Linked DNA regions of Homo sapiens: regions 1, 3 and 4 are each linked to region 2. Evidence: promoter capture Hi-C in 16 types of primary human blood cells and fetal thymus (Javierre and others, 2016). All regions are on one chromosome and are shown on one strand. Each heading gives the region's core, a stretch centred on a gene start or on the middle of the fragment in contact. The rest is flanking DNA. Distances are from core to core; before and after follow the strand shown. Region 1 overlaps SIK3 (SIK family kinase 3). Region 2 holds the start of TAGLN (transgelin). Region 3 overlaps BUD13 (BUD13 spliceosome associated protein). Region 4 has its middle 40 kb from the start of BUD13.

Region 1 (3,530 bases), core at 237-2,736, 340 kb before region 2:
ATGAGGAAAATCAGAATCAGAGGGATTAAATGACAAAGTTATCGTATTTATGATAGCTGCAAGAGCAGAATTAAGGTGCTCTGACTCTTGTTCCCACACTATTTACACTAAATTATGTTGGGCTGACTTTTTTTCTATTGCACAAGTTTAAAGTTAGCTGTTTGGATGGCAGTCAGGAATTTCTGGATTCCAAGAAACTGTGGTATGAATAAGGGAAATGGATCATCTATCTTATTGACTAAGTGTTAATTTTGTATCATGGTCCTTTGATTTTGAAAATGGACCCCTTGCCCACCAATACCCACTTCCTACATGCTTCTCCCCAAGAAGGTCGTGAAGCTCAGAAATTCTTTTTTTCTTAGGAACACAGAATACTAGCTGAAAAAAGATAACATTACTGAGTCAGTTGATTAGGGCAGACTGGCCCAGGACTTCCACTGTGAGGAGACACTTACCTCTGCTGGGCACCTTATTTTTACTGAATGCAGCAGTTGGCTGATGACCATAGGGATGTATCCCCAATTCTTGGGCATGACTCACAGTTCCTAGCAAAGATTCAGGGTCCCCAGGTCCACCGGTACTCAAGAGCAGAGGGCTGTCATGGCAACCTTTGGTCAATGTACTTGAACTCTTACTGTCTTGGAAGCCATCCTTGGCCCCCTCACACGAGCAGTCCTCCTCCATGCTCTCTGAATGCATCAGTGCCGGCTGGTGAGCATACCCGTGGGGCGGGGTGGGTGAGGAAGCCTGTGAGACACATTCTTGTGCCCTGATTTGTAGCAGATGCTGGGGGCTGGTGTGATGGTGATAAGAGTCAGCATTTTGATAAGATAAAGCCTGGCGCTCTGTCATGCTCTGTCCCCCAAGGCTGGGAGCCAGACTCCCCGCATCCCCTTGGTTCATGTGCCTGAACAGTTCCTGGTATTCTTGCTGTTGCTGCTGTTGCTGCTGCTGCTGCCGTTGTTGCTGCTGCCTTTTAATGAGCTGTGCAAACTCTGTTGGGGGCAGCCGGATGTCCGAGTGGCCGGTGAGCGAATGCCGGGGAGAAAGCAGTCCTTGAAGGATGTGGGGTACCTGCTGGTGTCTTGTATAGTCTGGCGGCGTGGGAGACAGCAGGGCCTGCTGTAGTGCCGACGTGGTATAGTGTGGCGGCTGCTGATGTGCACTGGGAGGGAAGGTGGGGAATTGGTCAAGTGGAGGGACTTTCAGGGCTTGGGTTGGAGAGAACCCCACTCCTGTTGAAGGGCTGTAGCTGCTGGGGGAACCCCGGGACTGGTCCGAAAACAGATGGGGGTGTAAATGCGCCTGGTCGTAGTTAGCAGGGGAGAACCGATTCACGTTCAAGCTGCAGACACAAAAGGGAGTACCAGACATCCATGTAACAAGTACTAGACTTCCTGGGAACAGCTCCTCCTCCTCAGTAGGGAGAACCCACTGGTACAGAGAACTGTGGTGTGACAGAGAAGTGGCAGATGTATGCATTGTCCCTATTTATTCCATTACTGGCTTGTCCAGTAACCTCCAAGGGACTGAGGGCACTGCGTGGGTAATAGATCTAGCTCATTTTGAAGGAAGCAACTTCAAGATGCTCCCTTCAAGAAAAGGGGAACTGGAATTTTTATACATTCCTCTAACAGGCCATTTTCTTCTTTGCAAGCAAATAATAAGGTAGCAAATAATAAGGTAGCTTTCCCATTTTCCACCTCAGTCTCATTAGAATTTTAACCCTGGGTCAATAAAAAGCTGACAAGTTCATTCCAAACCCAGCATCCTGATTTTAGAAAGCGTGAAACAAGAGCACAGCCTAGTCAGACCCATTCTCCTTCCCTCCTTTTCTCTCACTCTGCTAAGGGGCTTCCTCCCACCTGGATCCCATGCATAGATGGCTGGGTGACGTTAGGCGGTCTTACCTGTGAGCCTCTGCACTGTCAGCACTCAGCTGCTTGGACAAGGGACGGTGCCCATAGCTGAGGGTGGCCATCAGGTTGGTACGGTGCTGCATCTGCATCTGACCAGCACTGGGGCTGATGGAGATGCCGCGCCCACTGGAGCCTGCAGCTGTGCCTGGCATGTTGCTGAGCATGTCAACAGGCTCTTGGACTTGGATGGTGACCTGCTGTGACTGAGCAGGCTGCTGCATACCCAAGCAGGTTAGTGCCACGTTGGGAGGAGAGGAACAGTTCTCAGGTTGCTGCTGAAAGATTGCACTGCGGGAAGGTAAGCCTTGAAACTGGGAAGAAGATGCAGCCCCTGGAGAGAAAGGAACCTCAGAGTGACCAAGTGCCCAGGCCACCAGCCAGCCAGAAGTAATGAGAGCTAATGAGAATACTCAGACGACATACCAGCTAGAACAGTGCTTCTCAAACTGCACTGAGCATAGGACAAGTCTGGAGAACTTGTTAAACAGAAGATTCCTGGGTCCTATCTATATAATTCTGTTTCAAACTCTGATTCAGTAGGTCAGGATGGGCCCCTAAGAATTTGTGTTTCCAACAAGTTCCCTTAAAAGCTGGTCCATGGATTACATGGGGTAACTCGGATCTAGGCAGTGCTTCTTGAACTTTCACATGCACACAAATGGCCTGGCATCTGGTTAAAAATGCAGACTCTAGGCCGGGCGTGGTGGCTCACACCTGTAATCCCAGCACTTGGGAGGCCGAGGTGGGCGGATCATGAGGTCAGGAGTTCGAGACCAGCCTGGCCACCATGGCGAAACCCTGTCTCTACTAAAAATACAAAAATTAGCTGGGTGTGGTGGCGGGCGCCTGTAATCCCAGCTACTTGGGAGGCTGAGGCAGGAGAATCATTTGAACCCGGAGGTGGAGGTTGCAGTGAGCCGAGATCATACCACTGCACTCCAGCCTGGGTGACAGGGGGAGACTCCATCTCAAAAAAAAAAAAAACAGACTCTAACAGGTCTGGAATACGACCTGAGATCTTACTTTTTCTCCCAATATTGGTGGCTGGGGGACCCCACTTTAAGTAGGAAGAGCCTAGAGGCCAATTCAGACTCTTCTCAAGGATCCTAGGGAGACTGACTAGGGACGTAGCTCGTGGAGTGTTACTCAAGAGATCCTAAGACGGCTGACCTCTGAAGACTCACAGTCACATTATACTTATCTTCACTCCCATCTGTACACCCACAAGAGAGGGGCCCACGTGTATAGTAGACAGCCAAACGGAGGCATGTCTATAAGGAAGGTTCTGGTAGCTGCTTTTTATTTGGTAGGGCTGGAGGTTTTGTTAAAAATATTAATAATAGTAAACCTTTATTGAGAACTATTTTGTGCCAGAGACTGTTCCAAGTGTTTTACGTATATCTACATACTGTACCATAATTATCCTCAGTTGACATTTGAGAAGTAATATGGTTTGGCTCTGTGTGTACCCACATCTTGAAGTGTAGTCCCCATGTGTCAAGGGAGGGACCTGGTGGGAGGCGACTGGATCACGGGGCAGTTTCCTCCATGCTGTTCTCATGATAATGAGGGAATTCTTGAGATCTGGTTGTCTGATAAGTTTCTGGCGCT
Region 2 (3,547 bases), core at 983-3,482:
CACACATACCTATGAAACCTTGGAGTTTACAAAGAATTGCCCCAGCTCTGGGCACCCTGGCCACCCTGGTCCTTGGATCCCCTTCGTCCCACCTGGTCCACCCCAGATGCTGAGGATGGGGGAGCTCAGGCGGGGCCTCTGCTTTGGGGATGGGAATGTGTTTTTCTCCCAAACTTGTTTTTATAGCTCTGCTTGAAGGGCTGGGAGATGAGGTGGGTCTGGATCTTTTCTCAGAGCGTCTCCATGCTATGGTTGCATTTCCGTTTTCTATGAATGAATTTGCATTCAATAAACAACCAGACTCAGTTCTTGGGGCCCTTGTTTGCACTCCCTCTGGGTGGAGCTGTTGAGGATGAGGGGAGAGGCGGAGGTCTTCCATTTCCCCATTCTTCAAGCCATGGCCCTACTGGGAACTGCAATTCCTTGATTCTCCCGTTTTTCCTGTCCCTCCAGCAACAGCATTAATTCAGTAAACATTTACCGGGGCACTGTGCTGGACAGAGGCCAGTTCCTGGAAAAGCCTTTCCCACGCCATCCCACTGCAGACATCCCTCCTTACCTCCCCAGGAACAGCAGTCTCTGCCCACCTGGCCCCGCCCACCAGACTGAGGCTCACTTCACCTCTGACCTGAGCGGCCCCCAGCTCACCAAGCCACAGGCCCAAGCAGTGCTCCCTGATGCGGCGTTTATAATCCGCTCAGCGTGCAGGCCGAGGCAGGAGGGTGATGAAAGCTGGGCAGGCTCCAAGAGGAGGGAGTTTTGATATGTCCCTGAAAGATTCATTTAGACTTCAGTCGGCTAAGGAGGACATGATTTGGGGGCCAAGGAATCTGTTGAATTCAGAACACAACCAGAGGTCTGCAGGGTCAGGGATGGAGGAGTGGGCTTTCCCCTCGCCAGGGCCCACTCCTCTTCCTGCTTTTCCTGCAGGCGCCACTGGGAGGTGCTATGGCTGTGCCTCCCCTGGGCTCTGGAGCATGTCCAGTTGCAGTGGGCAGAACTGCGGAGGCGGGCCCCTCCTCTGCCAGGCCTGGCAGCCCCCTCCTAGGGCCTTGTTTGGCTAGGGGTGGTGCCGGGTGTGGCAGTGTGTGTGTAGTGGAGAGTGTTAGGTCTTCCCTACCAGATGCCCTTGCAGGGGAGTGCCACAGCAGTCAGTCCAGGGATCCCACTGTTAGTCTCACCTTTTTTAACCTCTTATCTCTCCCCAAGATCCCTGAAGCCAGGTACGAGCAAGATGAGAGTGGGTTATCTCTGGAGTGACAGAGGCTGGTCTGTTTTCCAGGCTGGTAGGGACTGTTCCTAAAGGGAGGAAGGGATGATACCAGCCTCCTGAGCCTCCTTCTCCTGCGTTAGTGTCTCAGGCCCTGCCAGGCCTTATAGACCCTCTTATTGACACTGCCCACTGGATGGGGACCGGAGTTGGACTCAGCTTCTGCCGAACCCTCAAATCCCAGCCCCAACTAAAGCATATAACTCAAGACCTACCTGCACTGAAAGCTCTTCTCAACCTGAGCAGGGTGGTCCAATTGAAAGGGTGGGTCTGACCACCTCTCCTGCACCCATGCGGGTTGGCAGAGGTGTGCAGGATCTGCCACTTACCATTCACCATGTGGCCTTGAGGAAGACGCACTCGGGGCCTCAGTTTCCTCATCTATAAAATGGGGATGTAATTACACCCTCACACTGTAGCTGTGAGTATTCAATGAGAGCACTGCAAAGGGCCTGGTGTGGAGTAGGTCCTCAGGAAAGGTTGGATCCCATGTCCCATCAGAGCTAAAAGCCCCAGGAGGAGAGGGTGGCTGGTTTGTCCCCACAAACCCCTGGGATTCCCGGCTCCCCAGCCCCTTGCCCCTCTCTCCAGCCAGACTCTATTGAACTCCCCCTCTTCTCAAACTCGGGGCCAGAGAACAGTGAAGTAGGAGCAGCCGTAAGTCCGGGCAGGGTCCTGTCCATAAAAGGCTTTTCCCGGGCCGGCTCCCCGCCGGCAGCGTGCCCCGCCCCGGCCCGCTCCATCTCCAAAGCATGCAGAGAATGTCTCGGCAGCCCCGGTAGACTGCTCCAACTTGGTGTCTTTCCCCAAATATGGAGCCTGTGTGGAGTCACTGGGGGAGCCGGGGGTGGGGAGCGGAGCCGGCTTCCTCTAGCAGGGAGGGGGCCGAGGAGCGAGCCAGTGGGGGAGGCTGACATCACCACGGCGGCAGCCCTTTAAACCCCTCACCCAGCCAGCGCCCCATCCTGTCTGTCCGAACCCAGACACAAGTCTTCACTCCTTCCTGCGAGCCCTGAGGAAGCCTTGTGAGTGCATTGGCTGGGGCTTGGAGGGAAGTTGGGCTGGAGCTGGACAGGAGCAGTGGGTGCATTTCAGGCAGGCTCTCCTGAGGTCCCAGGCGCCAGCTCCAGCTCCCTGGCTAGGGAAACCCACCCTCTCAGTCAGCATGGGGGCCCAAGCTCCAGGCAGGGTGGGCTGGATCACTAGCGTCCTGGATCTCTCTCAGACTGGGCAGCCCCGGGCTCATTGAAATGCCCCGGATGACTTGGCTAGTGCAGAGGAATTGATGGAAACCACCGGGGTGAGAGGGAGGCTCCCCATCTCAGCCAGCCACATCCACAAGGTGTGTGTAAGGGTGCAGGCGCCGGCCGGTTAGGCCAAGGCTCTACTGTCTGTTGCCCCTCCAGGAGAACTTCCAAGGAGGTGAGGAGTGTGTGAACGCACCTGTGTTGGAGCACGGTGTCCCACTCTGGCGGGTCCCCAGGGCCTGAGCAGCAGCGATAGCCCTGTGACAATGTGAAGGGCCACAGAACTCTTGTATTCCAGTCAGGGGCAAAGAGTGGAGACGGAAGGCCTGTCCTTCTGACAAGCAGCCCCTTCCACTGTCTGACAGTGGGAGGTCACCCCCACTGTAGCAGAGGGGTGGGGGGCGGGTACTGCCAAGGAGGAGCTTTGGAGTGATAGGCGGGGCAGGCCTGGGACCCTTGGTCTTTCCCAAAGGGTGGTTCCCTTTCGAAGTTGCTATTCCAAAGGTAGCAGTGAGGATGGCACACATTTATGTAGCCAGGCCACTCCTGTTTGTCCGTGGAGTGGAGAGGAGCCACCCTCCTGCCCTCTCAGAGGTCCAGGTGTGCTCACTCCTATTTGGGAAGAGAGAAGGGGCACAGCAGCCCTGCAGGGGCCCCTGGCTCTGCTCGTGTTTCTGGGCTTCTGCTGGTAGGGGGTGCCACCTTCCCGTTTGACCCTGGACTTTCTTTCTCCACTGCCCACTTTCACCCACTGGGCAGCTCAGGGGAGGGGTCCTGGCAGGAGCCACAGGGCAGGAGGGTCCATGCCTGTCCATGCTGTCCTGGGAGTGTCTTGAGATGCCCCTGGGGGGGCCGCCCTGTAATCATCCTCCTCTCCCCCTCCCCACTGGCTCGAAGGCAGGACTCGGGAGGCTTCATCAGAGGACTCTAAAGGATTTCTGGGGATTCTCCACTTTTCGACCCTGACCCAGGAGGAGGAAGGGGAAGGATGGTGGTGCTGGGTGGGAGTGGGGATGGTGTGTGCTTCATC
Region 3 (3,326 bases), core at 385-2,884, 450 kb before region 2:
CGCAGGAGAATCGCTTGAACCTGGACAGCAGAGGTTGCAGTGAGCGGAGATCGTGCCACTGCACTCCAGCCTGGGTGACAGAGACTCTGTCTCAAAAAAAAAAAAAAAAAAAAAGAAAGAAAGAAACAAAAAAGAAAAGAAAATATTTAAGGCATATGCAATAGAATCAAAGGGACAAAATATATCATTCATCCTTTTCTTAGTCCTTGTTCACACCCTTCCCCCACTCTGACAGCTATTTCAAACGTTTGCCACTCTAAAAGCCTGGTTCTCTCTCAGCTGATGTCCACATCTTATATTTTATCCATTCATTACACAAACATTTATTGAATTTTCATTATATACTAGGTACCATGGTAGACACTACATGAAAATGAGTATGACACAGCACCTGTCCTGATGAACTCCCAGACTAGTGGAAGAGAGAGACATTTAAACAAATAAATTAAAAGAACAGCATAAACTCTGGTAGAAATACGCATGGGGTGTCATGGAAACAGAATGGGTATCTTAATCAGCTTGGGGGAGGTATGATAAAAAGGTGACATGAGGGTTGGGCAAGAATGATCAGTAAAGGCTCTGTGTTAACTACAGCACTGGGGATGGAAGGGCCAGAAAGGGTCTGGAGGTCATTTCAGAACAGAATGAGCAACAAGAACAAAGGCACGGAAATAAGAAGTGGCCTGGTATGTGCAGCAAACCAAAGGCAAACTGGTATGGCTGGAACCTGAAGTATGACAAAGGGAACAGCCATGAGTCAAAGTTGGAAAGGCGCAGAGGCCAATGCATAATGAGCTGCGTAGGCCATGGTAAAAAGCTTAGATTTCATCCAGAAACGATGGGTTTAAAGCAAGAACTTAAACTGCATTTCAAAGAGATCACTCTGGAGGGGATCTGGGGCAGGAAAATCACTGCAATGGTCCAGGCAACAGATGATGAAGGCAATGATAAAGAGGGACGGAAGAGAGAAGACACAGGAGGCAAAATTAGTAAGACTAATTAGCAGCACTAATTGATTAGGTACACAAGGACAAAGAAGGAGGAGGCAAGTTAGAGAGCACAAGAGTAGGAGCAGGCTTACAGTAGAAGCTGATGAGTTCAGCTTTGAATACAATGCATTTGAAATCTCTCAAGTCTAAATCAATAGAGAAATCCAACAAACAGCTAAATACACCAGACCAAGATGCAAATACTGATTTGGAAATCATGTACATATAGGTCATAGTTGAAAACATGACTAGGTAAGAATCAGCCAGAGGGAGCACATAGAGTGAGAACAGCTAAAAATTATGGATGGAGCCCTGGGAAAGACTTAAGAGGTGCACAGAGGAAGAGGAGTTTGCAAAGGTGGCCAAGAATGATCAGAGAAAAGAACCAGGAGTAGGGTGTCATGGAAAACAATACAGGGGTGAATTTCAAGGAGGTAGTGAGTGGACCTCAAATCCCTTTAATTACCATGCATTCTCTTGGTCTTCTTATCTAAACTTCTTAAAAAGCCTGTATTCACTATTTGTTTCCTCACTTTTCATTCACTCCTTAATACATTAGAACCTGGCCATTGTTTCACTACACAACGGAACTAGCCCTTTCAGGTCATCACTGACATTCCTTGTTGCCAAATCCAATGACTCCTCCTTCCTCTTCCCCAAATCAGCAAACAGGTCCCACCAGCTCACCCCTGACCACATCCCCACTTCCTATTCTCTTACTAACCATCCTTACTACCACTGCCTGCAAGTCGTAGTTCAGACACTCATTACTTTCAGCCTGAGCTACTGCAAAAGCCTTGTATCTGTTCTACTTCCAATCTTGTACCTTTCAAATCCTTCATATTACTGCTATAATGGATTTGTCTATCTAAAATGCAGAGCTGTTTTTAATCCTTCCGTGTCTCCCCTTTACCTCTAGGGTGAAGACCAAGCTCCTCAGATAGGCTTCCAGGGCCTTCTGTGATCACGGTCTGCCAACCTCTCTCATCCATCTCACGCTTTATGCTATCCAACAACAGCAAATTACTTAGGGACCCCCACCACCTGGTAACACCATGGTGTCTCATAGCCTTATGACTCTGCACATATAGGACCCTCTTCCTTTAATATCCTTCCTTTCCTTCTTATCTTGGCTGGTTACCAACATCCCTTAAAACTCAGCTCCCACATTTCATCCGTTAGGAAGCACTTCCTGATCACTCACATCCTCCTAAGGCTCAACTTACTCTTCCTTTGTGCTCCCAAAACATCTTGAAAATCTTCTATAGTAACACTAACCAAACAGCGTTGAAACTGTCTGTCTTCTATTCTAGATTGAAAGTGAGCTCCTGGGCTCAGGGGCTATCTCTCTTTAATCATGGAATCCCTAGTACCTACTACCTAGCTGCTTACACTTATAACATGTATGCTAAGACTTTCCCTTAAGGGATGAGTGGAGTGAGTAACAGAGGGCTTTAAGAAGGGAAGCTTGGCCGGACATGGTGGCTCACGCCTGTAATCCCAGCACTTTGGGAGGCCGAGGCAGGTGAATCACCTGAGATGAGAAGTTCGAGACCAGCCTGGCCAACATGGTGAAACCCTGTCTCTACTAAAAATACAAAAATTAGCTGGGCGTGGTGCTCACGCCTGTAATCCCAGCTACTCGGGAGGCTGAGGCAAGAGAATTGCTTGAACCTAGGAGGCGGAGGTTCCAGTGAGCCAAGATCGTGCCATTTTGCACTCCAGCCTGAGCAACAAGAGCGAAATTCCGTCTCAAAAAAAAAAGAAGGGAAGCTTATTATAAATGGCATCCTCTCCAACCTTAGAAGCATGGATGGTATTCCAAAGCACCAAGGAAACCACTGTTTTTTACCTTGGAAATAAGGTCTTAAGAGAGTTACACTAATATGATAATACAAAGGACATATGAATAACAAACACCAAATCCTAAGCAGAATCAGAAAACAAATTGCAGGAGAACTCACAGTGGAAAGAGCTTTGGACCAGAGAATCAGGAACGCAGAGTTCTAATTCCAGCTTTCTCAGGGAAATTGCATGACTCTAGGCAAACTGCTTATTTATTGGGCCTCAGTTTCTCTTTTTTTTGAGACGGAGTCTTGCTCTGTTGCCCAGGCTGGAGTGCAGTGGCACGATCTCGGCTCACTGCAAGCTCCGCTTCCCGGGTTCACGCCATTCTCCTGCCTCAGCCTTCCGAGCAGCTGGGACTACAGGCGCCCGCCACCACGCCCAGCTAATTTTTTGTATTTTTTTTAGTAGAGACGAGGTTTCACCATGTTAGCCAGGATGGTCTCAATCTCCTGACCTCGTGATCTGCCCGCCTCGGCCTCCCAAAGTGCT
Region 4 (3,461 bases), core at 891-3,390, 470 kb before region 2:
CAATCCCCTCTCACCCAAATCCTGGCTCTTGAGGGGTTAACCCAGCCTTGGCTAATTGAGTAGAGGTAATGAGTGAGAAGTGGGCAAAGGCAACTGGGGAGGGAGGGAATCACACTGGCTCAGTGGCACCAGAGACCAAGAAAAGCACTTTCATTTATTTTTTTTCCAAATAGGCTGCTTTTTACAATGGGAAGTTGGAAAGCATATTACAGGTCTGTAATTGATCCCCGGTTACTAGTCTAGGTTAACTTTGATGGCTCAGAGTCCCCCAGGTAGAAAAACGCAGGCTGGCGCAGCCTAAAACCCATTTCTATTCTTCAGATGTACTGAGAAAACAAATCTCTGCAGTTAAGTTTGATTCCCCTTCCCCCTCTCCACACACCAACAAGGCCCTCTGCCCAGGCTGGACACCTAACAGACATGTACCAGGGGGTGTCAGATTTCCACTGACAAGGGGCCAGGAGCAAAGGCAGACTGCCCTCTGTCGGGGCAGCTGTGGGTTTATGGATCTCTTGCCCTCCAGCCCTCTCCTGACCACCCCAGGAATTCAGCTCTAGCCTAGAAAACGCCCTGCTCCATCCCGTCTCCCGCTGCTGCTGCCTCGCGTGTTGCCATGGCAATCCCTGTGGCTGCCTGGGATACCCACTGCTGCTCCAGAATTCTCTGCTTAAGCAGGGCAGCTCTCCCGCAGCCTGTGTGAGACACCGCCCTTTGCCATGGTATGATCACCAGCACGTAGCCTGGAAAGCCTGATACTGGCCTCTCCCTTCAGGTGAGCAGGGAGAGAAGATGGGAGAGAGGGGCTGGTACTGGGCAAGCAACTACAGGTCAGGCCACAACAGCTTGCGGGGCCAGACTCCAGCTCAGCAGGTCATGCTTCCCCTGGCCAGGGGAGCGGAGGGACCCCATCCTGGTACAGCAACCCCTTCCTCCCACAAGGATCAAGGTCTCCCAACTGCAAGAGGGGTCAAGGGAGGGAAAGTCTCCCACATGGGGAAGAGGAAATGAGGTCTTTCTGCCAGAGTTAGAACTGGGTGAGAGGAAGGAGGGCTAGAAGATTCCAGGAGCCCTTCCCCTTCACAGGACTCCAAGGCTGGTCTGAATTCCCCCCTGCAAGTCAGGCAGAGAAACTGTCAGGCATTCCTTGGGTCCCCTCTGGCCAGGGCATCCTGGGGCCGACCCATGAGTCCTCCTGCCAATGTATCCAGGAAGGCCAATAATCCACCCAGAAAGGCACCAGCCTCAGAGCTGGCAGTGCTAGGAAACTGCTTGCCCAGTCTTTGCCTGAAGGGGCAGGAACAAGAAGTGTCAGAATTCAGGAAAGGCACAGTCCAATCCAGGATGATGGGGAGTTTCTGAGAAGGTAGGCCCTGGGACTTTGGGCTGTGTCTCCCACCCAGACTAGAGGAAGCAGGCGGCTTTCTTATCCCATTGTGCGCCAGGCCCAGGTGAGCAAATCTGGTACAATCACTACTCAGGGGACCTTAGCCCTGTACGACAACCAACTTCACCCACCACAGTCCCAGCATGGCAAAAGGAGCTTTTTAGATAGTGAGGCACATAACAAGTGCCGCAGCAGCCTCTGCTGGCCGCCTTAGCCTTCCACACCTGACGCACGGCCGAAAACGCCGGCGGACCCTCGGAACTATGCTTACCATGAGTCCCCGCTGGCCCGGGACAATTCTGGTCTACAGCTGTTGTCTCTGCATAATTACTAATAGCAAGCACACACACCCTTCACTCTCAGAAGCATCCCAGTTTGGACAATAAATTCAGTGGCCTCTAATCGCAGCCAAGCGCAGGATCCCAGCAAGCCAAGCGAGAAGGTGGAGAGACTGAACATGGAGATGAAAAGCCTTCTCTCTGGCCTCAACCAGGGATAGCTGCTCCCTTTCAGTCATCACCAAAGGAGGAAATTCAGAGTCCCCAGCCCTGGGCCAAGACAGATGCATCTGGGTAGTCACACCTGAGGGAAGAGGGAAAGCAGGTATGCGGGCCGGGGCGGAACTAGGCGGAAGGAGGAGAAAGAAGGAAGAAAGAAGAGCAGGCGCAGCTGGAGGGTAGGAAGCATGAAGGAAGCAGAACGCTATGACTCCATGTGTCCAGCAGGTGGCTACACTGAGCGGTCTGTATCGGTCCATCCCCATTGCAGCCGGGCAGCCCCATCCAGCTTGCCTTGTAAGGCTCGGGGTGTGGCTTCCTGTCCTTCTGCAAAGCCCACCTAAGTCACAAAGCCCCTCTTTCCCCTTTACCCTACTTTTCATTCGCTTTTCTCCGAATGACTCCCTAGCCTGAATTACAAAATCACGAAGACATTTCACAAACCCCCATGCCCTCACCCCGCACAACCCCGAGAGACAAGAAAGAGACGCCAGAGCAGTGGGCTCCGGGGTAGTGGGATTCCTGGATCGCTTCCTCCTGGGCTGGTGCCTGCTTGATGCAGGGCTCCTCAGAAACCCCCTGGTATCTGCCCACCTGGGTTGGGAGTCCCTGAGTACAGAGGTATAGGGACCACTGTGGTTTTTTGTGGTGTGGAAGTGAGGTCATAGAAATCAGGGAATTTCTATATGTCTGTCATTCAGAGAAGTTAATGCAAATTAGCTGCAAAGTAAAAAACAAATGTACACTATTTACATCAGAAGTCAGCAGTTATGGCATTTGGGGGATCAGGACAGCAGCAACAGTCCACACTCCACAGGGCCTCATGAGGTAGTGAGAAGAGGGAGCCCCAGGCTGGTGCGGATGGGTTTTCCTGCACTGCTGCCCACCCCTGATTCCCCAGTCCCAAGTCACTCCAGGTGAAGCAATGGCCATATGTGTGGGAGGGAGGGGAAGTCACATCCTGCACTCAGGCAGCTTGCAGTCTGGTTGATGGCCTTTAGGCCCCAGTCCCATGCTTCCTCCCACCATGGCCCCCCAGCCTAATGCCAAGATTCTCCCCAGGCTGGGGCCAAAGTGCGATTTTATCCCCCTTTTTCCCAAGTAGGAGAGGATTATTGTGAAAAGGAAAAATAAGGATCACAGAATCCTTGGGAAGATTTCAAAGATGCCCTACCTACATCTGCATATCACTAATAAATAGCTGCTGAGTTCTGGAAGTTTACACTTGCCCAGTTCTTACCTGCAGTGGAACCTCAACCTAGCATTCAGTTTAATTCAACAAATTAAATGTACTGAGTGTCTTGTACAGGCCGGGCTTTGTGCCGGATGCTGAAGACTGTGGTCTCTGCCTTGAATAAGCCCTAAGTCTGGCCGGGGGAGAAAAACACGTCAAAAACACTGTAATTTGAAGAGACTCACATTAGAGTCAGGTAGGTACAAGTACAATAGGAGCAAGTCTGAAGAGGAAGCATTTGATTCTGCCACTCTGCGGGTAGCACGGGGGCCAGGGGGAACTCCACAAAGGAAGTGACATTTGAGCTGGACCCTTAAGGGTGAATAAGGATTTGCTAGGGAGAGGA

The links. Contacts are between HindIII fragments. The CHiCAGO score rates a contact against its expected background, and 5 or more counts as called.
Region 1: a contact is called between a fragment that was not itself captured here and the fragment with the promoter of TAGLN in region 2, in 2 of 17 cell types (naive CD4 T cells and total CD8 T cells). The highest score is 5.5, in naive CD4 T cells.
Region 3: a fragment that was not itself captured here is called in contact with the fragment with the promoter of TAGLN in region 2 in 4 of 17 cell types (total CD8 T cells, neutrophils, fetal thymus and 1 more); the score reaches 6.2 in total CD8 T cells.
Region 4: a fragment that was not itself captured here is called in contact with the fragment with the promoter of TAGLN in region 2 in 1 of 17 cell types (erythroblasts); the score reaches 5.5 in erythroblasts.

The regions. Positions count from the first base shown.
Region 1 is chr11:116,857,355-116,860,884 of GRCh38, forward strand. SIK3 (SIK family kinase 3) reads right to left here. Exons shown (of 25, transcript NM_001366686.3): 20 at 1,911-2,250; 21 at 456-1,345. Among named protein-coding and RNA genes, the nearest start is that of APOA1, 21 kb to the left of the region's middle. The HindIII fragment of the contact is 5,146 bases long and covers 1-3,530 here.
Region 2 is chr11:117,197,138-117,200,684 of GRCh38, forward strand. TAGLN (transgelin) reads left to right here and starts at 2,233. Exons shown (of 5, transcript NM_003186.5): 1 at 2,233-2,295. LOC100652768 (a long non-coding RNA gene) reads right to left here. Exons shown (of 8, transcript NR_045215.1): 2 at 2,714-2,775; 3 at 1,600-1,651; 4 at 1,182-1,299; 5 at 649-770; 6 at 93-267; 7 at 1-9. SIDT2 (SID1 transmembrane family member 2) reads left to right here. Exons shown (of 26, transcript NM_001040455.2): 26 at 1-305. RefSeq lists an enhancer at 790-1,453 and a silencer at 856-1,150. The HindIII fragment of the contact is 9,715 bases long and covers 1-3,547 here.
Region 3 is chr11:116,748,888-116,752,213 of GRCh38, forward strand. All of the region lies in intron 9 of BUD13 (BUD13 spliceosome associated protein), which reads right to left. Among named protein-coding and RNA genes, the nearest start is that of BUD13, 22 kb to the right of the region's middle. The HindIII fragment of the contact is 1,639 bases long and covers 816-2,454 here.
Region 4 is chr11:116,730,792-116,734,252 of GRCh38, forward strand. No RefSeq gene overlaps it. Among named protein-coding and RNA genes, the nearest start is that of BUD13, 40 kb to the right of the region's middle. RefSeq lists a silencer at 2,143-2,192. The HindIII fragment of the contact is 5,485 bases long and covers 1-3,461 here.